Regions from separate parts of the Homo sapiens genome. Here region 1 is linked to region 2. Evidence: promoter capture Hi-C in human tissues and cell types (Jung and others, 2019). All regions are on one chromosome and are shown on one strand. Each heading gives the region's core, a stretch centred on a gene start or on the middle of the fragment in contact. The rest is flanking DNA. Distances are from core to core; before and after follow the strand shown.

Evidence for each region. Contacts are between HindIII fragments. The study calls those that stand out against the background at their distance.
Region 1: a contact is called between a fragment that was not itself captured here and the fragment with the promoter of VSX2 in region 2, in 2 of the 25 tissues and cell types used here (dorsolateral prefrontal cortex and ovary).

The regions. Positions count from the first base shown.
Region 1 is chr14:74,137,054-74,142,424 of GRCh38, forward strand. The region is part of intron 5 of LIN52 (lin-52 DREAM MuvB core complex component); the gene reads left to right. It overlaps LOC105370563 (a long non-coding RNA gene), which reads right to left. Exons shown (of 3, transcript XR_944024.3): 1 at 3,171-5,371. Among named protein-coding and RNA genes, the nearest start is that of LIN52, 55 kb to the left of the region's middle. The HindIII fragment of the contact is 4,455 bases long and covers 888-5,342 here.
Region 2 is chr14:74,235,372-74,241,116 of GRCh38, forward strand. VSX2 (visual system homeobox 2) reads left to right here and starts at 4,078. Exons shown (of 5, transcript NM_182894.3): 1 at 4,078-4,560. The coding sequence starts at 4,191. RefSeq lists an enhancer at 5,429-5,745. The HindIII fragment of the contact is 17,172 bases long and covers 1-5,745 here.

The DNA.
Region 1 (5,371 bases), core at 1,865-4,364, 99 kb before region 2:
AGAAGAAAAGTCATTAAGTCTTCTTTTCCTCCAACAGTTCATTATGAAAAAATTTTGATCACCCAGCAAACCCCCCTCTGTGTGTGTATATTTTATATATGAATATATATATATATATATTTTTTTAATCTATATTACGTATTGATATTCTCTTCTTCCTTAGCCATTTGGAAGTAAATTTCAGACATCATGGCACTTTACCCCTAAATGCTTAAGAACACATCTCCTAAGAATAAGGATAGTTTTCTATATAATATTATCACATCCAACAAAAATAATTTAAAAAATCTAATATATTTTCACATTCAGACCTCCCCAATTGTCCCTAAAAATCTTGTGTAGCATTTTTATTAAAACCAAGATCCAGTCCAAGTTCTGGCATTGTAAATGCCATTACATTCTTGATAAGAGAACATTGAGCACTAAATTCTTCACAGCAGCTCTCTTTTTTTTTTTTTTTTTTGAGATGGAGTCTTGCTCTGTTGCCCAGGCTGGAGTGCAGTGGCGCGATCTCAGCTCACCACAACCTCTCCCTCCTGGGTTCAAGTGATTCTTCTGCCTCAGCCTCCCGAGTAGCTGGGATTACAGGCCACGCACCACCATGCCTAACTAATTTTTGTATTTTTAGTAGAGACGGGGTTTCACTGTGTTGGCCAGGCTGGTCTTGAACTCTTGACCTCGTGATCCGCCTGCCTCAGCCTCCCAAAGTGCTGAGATTACAGGCATGAGCCACCGCGCCTGGCCTCACAGTAGCTCTTTTAATAAATATTTACCAGCTTTTTCCTGTGGTGAACATATATTTACTCAAATGACTATCATTTTCTTCTAGAATATTGAGTTTTGAGTTCTCTCTTTACAATAAGCCTGCTTTATCAAGCTCCTTTATTTCTGGTATCCTCTCCTTCTTCCAAATGAATTACCTGTAGAATTGATATTTTCTCCAATAACTACTCTATTCCACAGTCAGAGTAATATTTTTGAAACACAAATTGACATGTGACCTTATTCCCTTCTTCTTAAAATCTGTCAACAGCTTCTCATTGTTCTCAGGATCAAGTCAAAAACCTTTAACTTGGCCTTACAGCTCTGCCTGATCTAACGTTTTTCACACCATGCTCCCTTTCTGAGCATGTGTTCCGCACATTCAGAAAACAGAGGGAAAAGTGAGGTAAATAATCCAGGGAACACCTCTTGGAAGAGATGAAACTTGAAATAGAATTTGATGTCTAATATTTGTATATAAGAGGAAAGAATACACTTCAGAATGGGAAGGAATTTTTGAGAATGGATAAGATATTTTGGGGGAAAATTGATAAATTGTAACAGACTAGAGAGATGAGTCAAAGTGATTTCAAGATTTTAAGCCCTTGTGACTAGGAGAATACAATTTAGTGTGGAACTGAGATATGCATTATAAAACTTCAGTTTTGTTTGCTAAGGTGTTGTTAAAGCATCTTTGAAGGCCAACGTGGCATGATCACTTGAGGCCGGGAGTTCAAGACTAGCCTGGACAGCATAGCGAGTCTCCATCTCTACAGAAAAATTTAAAAATTAGCTGGTGAGGTGGCTCAAGCCTGTAGTCTCTGCTACTTGGGAGGCTAAGGTGGGAAAATCACTTGAGTCCAAGAGTGAGGCTGCAGTGAGCTGTGATTGCACCCTCACCCCACCCCCTATCCTCTGCACTCCAGCCTGGGAGACAGAGTGAGACCCTGCCTCAAAAAAAAAAAAAAAAGGCATCTTTGAAATGAATAACTTAACAATTTAAACTACTATCAGGGTTATATAGGTGAAAAGGTTGTGAATATATAGTCTGTTAATTATGATAAAGTGCAACCATATATAACAGGAAATCTAAAATAATTGTGGCTTACACAAGGTAGCATTTTTTTTTTTTTTTCAACAAAAAGGAAAGCTGGAGGTAGATGCACCTAGCAGGTAGGGCAGTTCCAAAGGTGTCATCAAGGACTAAAGTTTCCATCCTTCCATCCTAAATATACTTTATACACGCTAGAGCTCTAGCCATCATGCCTGAATTGTAGGCAAGAAGGTGGGGTAGGAATTTAATTTAAAAAAGGGATCCCACACAGCTGACACTTTTCTTTTTAAGCAGCCTTCCTGGAAGTCCCACAGAATTTAAATCACCTGGCCTGGCTGCAAAATAATGTAATTGTTTATTCTGAGCTATAATTTTGGTAGCAAAAAAGTTGGCTATCTGTTAATACAGAGGAAGAGGGAACATGGATCTTGGAATAGGCAGCCAATATTCTCTGCCATAGCAGGGGACAAGAGACCTTTGCAAGAGCAGTGGGGTCAGTAGAAGGATGTGAGGTGATGTGTTGAGAAGGAAGCTCAGAATTAGTGATTTTACAGGTGCATGTATGGACTTAGTGATCTTGTTTTCTTTACCACATTAAGCTTGTTTGGTGCTCCATAAATGGGTGACTGCGTGCCCAACATCTCCTGTTAAAGGATCTTGCAGACCTTTTTTTTTCCCCCTCCCTTTGGCTATTTCTCCAAGTAAATAAATATTAGAAAATATCAGCTCTTTTTCATCTTCAGGGAACAAGCCACTCAAGAAATGGTCAGTTTTTAAAATTGCTGAGCAGAACCTGCTATAGATATTTCCAGTATGGAGAAGAGAAACACTTGGATTTCTGATTTGTGTATGTTTACCAAAACAGATTCTAAGATATAAGAAAAATATTGCTAGAGTAATATTTTCTTTTATGCAGCTAGCATAGTGAGTCCAAGAGTTTATTTTTATATTCACTGTGTTTCACATAGGCTTGATTATAATAGGCTATTGGTGTTGTTGAATGGATGATTGAATTATTTCTGAAGCCTGTATGAGGTAGACTGTGGTGATATTTAGAAGTTAAAGGCAGTCTATGGTTTAATGTAATAAAACATGCTTCATAGCTAGTAAAAAAGCTATCCCTTTTATAATATATAGTGTATAGATTATATAATTAATATAAAGCCACAATAGCTTTATTACTAATTTAAAATTTAACTCCTAAGAACACTTCAGCAAAAACACAAAAATAGATTCACTTAAAAGCTTTTTAAAAATAACTTAGCCCAAAACACCAAATAAGTCTAGTAGAGTTTTGCTGCTTTAAATGTAAAAAGCAGCATTTTACTCTTAGTATTTAAAGGCGACTCCTTACCTTCTTGTAGCACTTTGTCTACTGCAGAATGTGCATGATTTTGCCCTAGTTATGGTGACTGGATTCTCATCCTCTCAGTAGGATCAATATTAAGCTAGCCTTCTTTACCTCCTCGATCCATATTAAACCTGTCTTGGAAAGAGTCTGTTTATTGGATAATATAGCTACACCGGGGCTCTATGACAATATCTTTTGCTGCCTCATTAACTCTCGAGCATTAGAACAAGATAAAAATGCCCTAAAGCCTCTTATCTGATGTCTGGTGTAACCTGCTGTAAGCAGGATTGCCATTAGTTTATGTTAGAAATCAAATGACCCTCTCCAGTGCAGGAAGTACTGATTAAACCTGAAGTGTCCCCGGAGGACTCTACAGCTGTCAGAGGGGTGGTGACTGTCCGTCACGAAAAGGGAAATCTGGGCCAGAGGTCCCAGTGGGGCGGTGCTTTAAGAACCCGCACGTGGCTGCCCCAGCTGTTCTGCTTTGCCTAATGAATTGTTTTACAAGAAGAGGCTGGGTATTATCATCACAAGCTGCCTTCCTTAGGGACTGGAGCAGGCCAAATAATAAGTAATGTTAGTGATGGTAATTGAAATGTGATGGCTCTCCTGAGATCTTTATGGCCCTGGAGCTGGTTGGCACTTGTGGATTGCCTTGTCCTAGCAAGTGCCTTATTTTTTTTCTGTTTTGTAATACCGTTGTGTGCGTTTTTCTCTTCTGTCCCCCATGGAAATTCATTAATAAAAGCTATCGTAGGAACATTACAATGATGTTAACTACAAAAGGAACAGTTTTAACTTTTTCATTTCAATTATCAAACACTGTAATGGTAAATAAGTGGTTTCTGGAGGAAACCACTGTAAAGATCTCTCTGTGCTTTTAAAGGAATATGTTAAACTTATACAAATAATACAAGCTCTTGATTTTAAGAATATTTTAAAATAACATGAAAGGATATAAAGTGAAAAGTAAAATCCTTATCTGCTGAATTTATGAGCGGTAACTGCCACGAACAGTTTCTCCATGGATGCTTCCAGACATTTTCTGTACATAGTAAAGTTTATATACATTACCATACACAGATGCAATCATAATATACATACTGTTTTGTGACTTATCTTTGACCCCACAACATGTCTTGGATATCTTTCCACAGCAGTATACATAGATCTGCTTCACTGTTTTCCAAATGCTTCATAGGATTTCACTATATGGATGTACCAATTCAAGACTCTTTGTAGATAGTTTGACTTGGACCTTATAAATGAAGCCTTACCATACAAGCAGGTTGCATCCACTGACTTGTGTTCCATAGTTCAAACTCTGCTTTTACATGAAGTGATTTTCCTTACTTCAGGAATGTTACATTTTAGTCCAGTATTGTTTTAAAATAGGAAATTCTGGAGGTAAAGCTTTTAGGGGGGAGGTAGTGTGAGTCTTGTCATGCATCATTAGCCGGACATATGTGTAGTGATATGCACCCCACTGTGTGCTTTTAATTTGTTGCTTAGTTAAATGAGAAGTATTCTGTCCCAGATAGGTGGGGAAAACAAATAGCCTTTGATGAGTGTTGTCCAAGGCACTGACTGGCGGCTTCCTCTAAAGTTGAATGAGTGTTTTCTCCCCTAATTTTCTACTTCAGAAGTTCCAGGAATCAAGTTTTGAACGCATTAATGGACTTGGGAAATGATTTGTCAGCACGTGGAAATGAGGACTTAGGTTTCTTGTGTAACAGCTTGGCTAACAAAGCAAGTTTGTGCCTCATGAACTTTAAGGGCCTTGCTGGGAGTGGCAGTGTGATGAATGAAGCAAAGCAATTTTCCAGGAGCATTTCAGGTCAGTGATAGGAGAAATCAGTTGTCTTCTCAGTCAAACAGAAACTTAATTTTAGTTGCATCTGTCTTAATAAGAGAATCTGTATGCAAATTGAATGGTAGAAATTCCACATCTGCCAAAGATGGGAGCATTGCAAGTCTTTTTTTTAACTCGAAGCTCTTTAGTCCCATTCTCAACACTTCAAAATTGAGGTTTGACCAAATATTGAAGAGATGTCATACTACTAAATTGCAAAATGCAAACTAGTTTTGTTTCAGACTTTTTATACAGTGCTTTTCTTGTCCTTGATGTTAGTCATTTGAATTGATGCCCAATCTTTAATTTAATAATTGGAGGCTATTATTAATAACAATAACTGATTTACTTC
Region 2 (5,745 bases), core at 2,828-5,327:
CCAAAAAATTGTTGCTGATGGCTGGATAGTGACTCGGGGAGGCAGCTAGCAAGGGAGAATGATTTGGCTGTAGCTGGTGCTACAAATGACCAGTAACCAAGGCAAAGTATAGAGACAGCATCCTCCCTCTTCCCTAATCACCCTCTTGGAGCTTTAGTGTCTTATTTGTGACAAGGGGGACAGAACTTCTGGCCTCTCACAGAAGTTGAGTGGATTAGAGGTGACAAGGGGCCTGGCACCCATTCACAATAGCAGTAAGAGCCACAATGTATTGAGTCCCCAGGGTCAGACACCATGCTAAGTGCTTTAAATATGTCACCTCCTCCCACCACTGGTCCAAGTTCCAGGAAGGCAAGGACCAGGTCTTTATTCCCCACCACACTGCCAGTCCCAAGTACAGTATCCTGCTGCATGGTAATAATAATAGTAAACATCATAGGAGCCTTCATTTGTAGCCTTTTTGTATACTCACAGTCTACACTGATTCACCATGTGCAGCACTGGATAGCTCTAATCTTCATGACACTTTCTTTCTTTTTTTTTTTTTTGAGATGGAGTCTGGCTCTGTTGCCCAGGCTTGAGTGCAGTAGCGCAGTCTCGGCTCACTGCAAGCTCCGCCTCCCAGGTTCACGCCATTCTCCTGCCTCAGCCTCCTGAGTAGCTGGGACTACAGGCGCCCGCCACCACGCCCGGCTAATTTTTTGTATTTTTAGTAGAGACGGGATTTCACTGTGTTAGCCAGGATGGCCTCGATCTCCTGACCTCATGATCCACCCACCTCAGCCTCCCAAAGTGCTGGGATTACAGGCGTGAGCCACCAGGCCCGGCCTTCATGACACTTCTTTTTTTTTTTTAATTTTTGAGACAGGGTCTCACTCTGTCGCCCAGGCTGGTGGTGCGATCTTGGCTCACTGCAACCTCTGCCTCCCAGGTTCAAGCGATTCTCCTGCCTCAGCCTCCTGAGTAGCTGGGATTATAGGTGTCCACCACCATGCCCAGCTAATTTTTGTATTTTTAGGAGAGACCAGGTTTCACCATGTTGACCAGGCTGGTCTTGAACTCCTGACCTCAAATGATCCACCCGCCTTGCCCTCCCAAAGTGCTGGAATTACAGGTGTGAGCCACCACACCTGGCCCTTTATGATAATTCTAAGGAGTGGGGTCCTACTATGATCCCCATTTTATGGATGAAGAAACTGAGGCACAGAGGGCACAAAGAGGTTAGATAATATTCCCAAAGTCACCAAGCAAGTGATAGAGTGGGCATCTGAACCCAGGCAGTCTGGCTCTAGAGACCAGGCCCTTGTCCTCTATGCTAACTCAGGGGGTCAAGGGATGCTCACAACCCCATTATCGGGCTATTTTCTAGGTAAAGCAATCGATGTTAAGAGAGAAGAGAAATGATGAGCTCAGAGAAGGCCCAGGTTTGGACTCAGTGTGACCAAACTAAATGCCTCTGAAAGGGTTCACTTCACTCCCCACACCCCTGGCCCAAGCTGTGGGGATCTGCATTTCCTTGTAGGGTCCCCCGTTATGGTCCACAAATGTCTTTTTTTTTTTTTTTTGAGATGGAGTCTCCCTCTGTCATTCAGGCTGGAGTGCAATGGCGCGATCTTGGCTCACTGCAACCTCCTCCTCCTGGGTTCAAGCAGTTCTCTCACTTGAGCCTCCGGAGTAGCACACGCCACCACACCTGGCTAATTTTCGTATTTTTAGTAGAGACAGGGTTTCACCATGTTCGCCAGGCTGGTCTCAAACTCCTGACCTCAAGTGATCCGCCTCCCTCAGCCTCCCAAAGTGCTGGGATTACAGGCGTGAGCCACCACGCCCGGCCACAAATGTCTTAAGTCTGGGTCCAGCCCAAGCTGGGCAGCTGGGGAGCAGTAACAGTGACACCTCAAAAGCTCAGAGACAGCCCCGTAGCCAGGAGTCTGTCAAGGAGTCCAGCTCCCAGGGTGGAGCTGGCCGCAGGTGGAAGCTGAGTCCTCCCTTCACCTTCAGCCTCTGGCAAGGGTTTTTCTCAGGGGGCCTGGGGTTGTCCCGGTCTCCAACCTCCTACAGCAGGATGGCGACTATCTCTCTGATATTGGGAACTGGCAGCTTCAGACATGGGGTTTGGTCAAGAGATTTTTCATCCTCATCTGGCAAGAGCCAACTTCATCACTCACACACTTGTTTTCCATCACTCACGTTTGCCCATCAGCTGGCATCTGGCTCATCGTGGATGTCTCATGATAAGTCAGGGACATGACAGATGCCATTAACATAACATCCTCATCCATCCTCCCAGGGTGGGCTGGCATGGAGAGTGGGCTGAGAGAGGGATGGAGTCAAAAGAAAACAGCTTCTGACATCAGACTCATGCGCTGACTCATCTGACCTCTGATGCTTACTAGCTAGGTAACCTCTTAGGCAACATAAGTTTGTGTATCCATTAAATGGGGACAGAAATTCTTTTCTGGCAGGTGAGTCTACTGCTTTGCACAACTCCAGAGGGCACCATTCACATTGTTGTCTACGTGAGTGGTGTTACTTGGGACCCACCTCCATAGAATATAAGGTGAAGAATGCCTTGAGATTGTGTCACCAGAGATGACACCATGTAAGGGGCCTGGGATGATGTAGGCACACAGTAGGCACGGCCTTATTATGGGATACAGAGGCACCACTCTCCCAGATATCTCCTGCACCATGAGATGCCCCTACCTAATTCCAGCTGTTATGTGGACCAAACCAATGGGAGTGGAGACCCTCCTCACAACAGCCCTGCTAGCAAGGTCTAGGTTCCACATCCTGAGGTGCCTCCTCTTACCTCTCAGGCTGGCCCCATGGCAGCCACGAGGGTACCAGACACCTTGGCAATAGGCCAGGTATGGCTAGGGGGTTTCCTTCCATTTGGGGGTTTGCACCTGACTGGCTAAGAAATCCTGGATGGAATCTTCCCAGCCTGGTTTTCCAATCTCTGCTTAAAGCAATGGACCTAGTCCTTATCTCCCCATAGGGTGCCTTCAATTCAAGGAACCTACCATGAACTGACCATATGCTAGGCGCAGTGAAGAAGGGAGCCTCAAGGTCGATAAGATAGTTCCCAGCCCCAAGAAGGTCACAGAAGAGTTAGCTGAGGTGGTGGAGTGCAGGGGAAAGCAGCTTACCTTTTAATTTCCTCTCACCCGCTTCCTCCTTCCTCTCCCTCCACATCAACAATCCCTTCCTCTTCATTCTGTTTGCTCAATGAACTCTGAAGTATAGCAGGGCCCTTGCCTTGTCTGATTTACTGCGGAACCCCTGGCTACCAGGTCGGAGCTAGTAGCTCAATACATATTAGTCGAATGAATTGGGTGGAAGAATCAAGTCCTCCCATGAAAGTTGGGCATGCTTCATGCTTACTCTAGGAAGAGGTTTGGATGTCCATGGTTGTTCTCCAAAAGTAATCATCACTGTTCCTCTTTCCCACCAGGGACCCCTCTTTCTGACCCATTTATCATTCATTCATTGGGCCAATATGTGTTGAGTAGCTCTTCCGAACTAGGCATTATACCTTGTGCTGGGGAAGCAAACTTTCCCTACCCCTACATCACCCTCTGCACACCTTGGCCTGATCTTTTCCCAGCTTACCACCACACACACTGCCCCAGCACTTACCTCTCCCTTGTTCAACCGTTTACACAGAGGTGCCATATTCAGGCCGCCCTGATGCTGCCAACCTGCATAGGAGTTGAGGGAAGGAGGTCTCCCAGTCTCTCACCTCTGCCCTTAGCCCATCCTTCCACCTGACCTCAGGGACCTGTCCCTGCCAGAATCTGCCCAGAGCCCCAAGCCACTCTGCCTCCCGGAACAGCCCTGAACCTGAACCTGGTTGTCTCACTTCGGCCCCTGGGGTCCCTGCCCATGGGCATCCTGCAGAGCCCACCCGGTGCTCCACCCCCAGCACCCTGGCCATTCGACATTGCCTGCGGCGGGAGCTGCCAGCTTTTTGGAATTCCTAATCGCTCCTGGCCCCGGTGATTGGCTGCTCAGCTCTGACCCCACTTGGGCTGCCGCCTGGTTGGATAAAAGGGGAATCTCCTTGGGCTCCAGAGCATTAGACACCGGAGGGGGCACCTGGGACCAACTTCGCGAAGCGGGAAGCCCGGCGGGGGGGTGGGGGGAGCTAAAGACCTGCGGCCTCAGCCCCTCCAAAGAACAGGGAGATGACGGGGAAAGCAGGGGAAGCGCTGAGCAAGCCCAAATCCGAGACAGTGGCCAAGAGTACCTCGGGGGGCGCCCCGGCCAGGTGCACTGGGTTCGGCATCCAGGAGATCCTGGGCTTGAACAAGGAGCCCCCGAGCTCCCACCCGCGGGCAGCGCTCGACGGCCTGGCCCCCGGGCACTTGCTGGCGGCGCGCTCAGTGCTCAGCCCCGCGGGGGTGGGCGGCATGGGGCTTCTGGGGCCCGGGGGGCTCCCTGGCTTCTACACGCAGCCCACCTTCCTGGAAGTGCTGTCCGACCCGCAGAGCGTCCACTTGCAGCCATTGGGCAGAGCATCGGGGCCGCTGGACACCAGCCAGACGGCCAGCTCGGGTAGGTGAGGAGAGGTTGCGCTGCTGCCTGACTGGGGGGCGACAGCCGGGAGCCCCGCGCCGTCGGCTCTCGCTTGCTGGACCAGGCCTCCAGGCGGAAAAGTTCCTGCCAGGCCGGGGGTCGCCGCCTGGGCCTTGGGCCGACGCGCCTGGTGATGGGGCCCGGGAGGATGCTTCGGCGTCCGCAGGGTTTCGGCCCCAAGCGTTTCGGGCGGCCGCGCAGTTCTCCAGTCCCCGCGTCGGGCAGGGCTCGGCCACGGCACTCTGTTGGAGCCCCACTGAAAACTGGGTTTGGGGTGTCGGAGCCCGTGGTGCAGAGTCGCCGGCCGTGTCGGAGGGCCCCAGCACCGCTGCTCCACTGCGGCCCCGGCCTGGTGTAGGATCCGCACTCCTCGAGCCCGATGCTGTTCCGGCTCCGGCCCCATCCCTGGTGTCCAAAGTTGTCTGATTCCCAAATCCCGCGCTGGTCAACTGGGGTTTATTTTTCACCCCCACGAGCTCAGACAACCCGGCCATCGCGGCAGCTAAAGCGGCCGCCATCCTCTCCCACGTAAGCGCCACTATATACTGGAGCCCGGGGACGCGCGGGCTCGGGGACCCTGGGTGACCTCTCCGCCTTCTCCCCGCGCTGCTTTCCGGGAGGTGTGTCGCGGCCCGCTCGAACCTCCGATTCCTGTTTGAGCTTGGCAATTCCCCCGATTTTTCGTTGCGTTTTACTTTGTTTTACGTGGAAAGGCAACGAAAACCAGCGCGTCGCAGGCTCTCGGGCCTCGAGTAGGGACGCATTGTGCCGCCTTGCGAAAAGGACGGTGCTCGGCAGCCCCCAGTCTTCCCGGAGCCCAGCTCCCCACGCCTCCGCTCCGCTCCTCGCTCCTCGAGGCCAACTTTCCGGCCCGGGGCATTGGGGCTGGCCGCGCAGGGCAGGGCGCAGCAGGGTCGCGAGCGCTGCCGGGGATCTCTGCGGCCCCCTAAGGCTGCCTCGCTCTCCGTCGTCCCGGTCCCAAGCGCGCCGGGGCCTTTGCCTCTCTTACAACGAAATCTGTTCAAAACCTCCGGATTCGGGCCCCGGCGCGGGAGAGGTCAGCCTGAGCTCAGGGATGGGACGGCCACCGGGGCGCCCGCAGGCTTCCTGGGGAGACAGAGCAGGTCCCCGCCGCTCGCGGAGGCAGCCCGGGGTGGGGCCCTC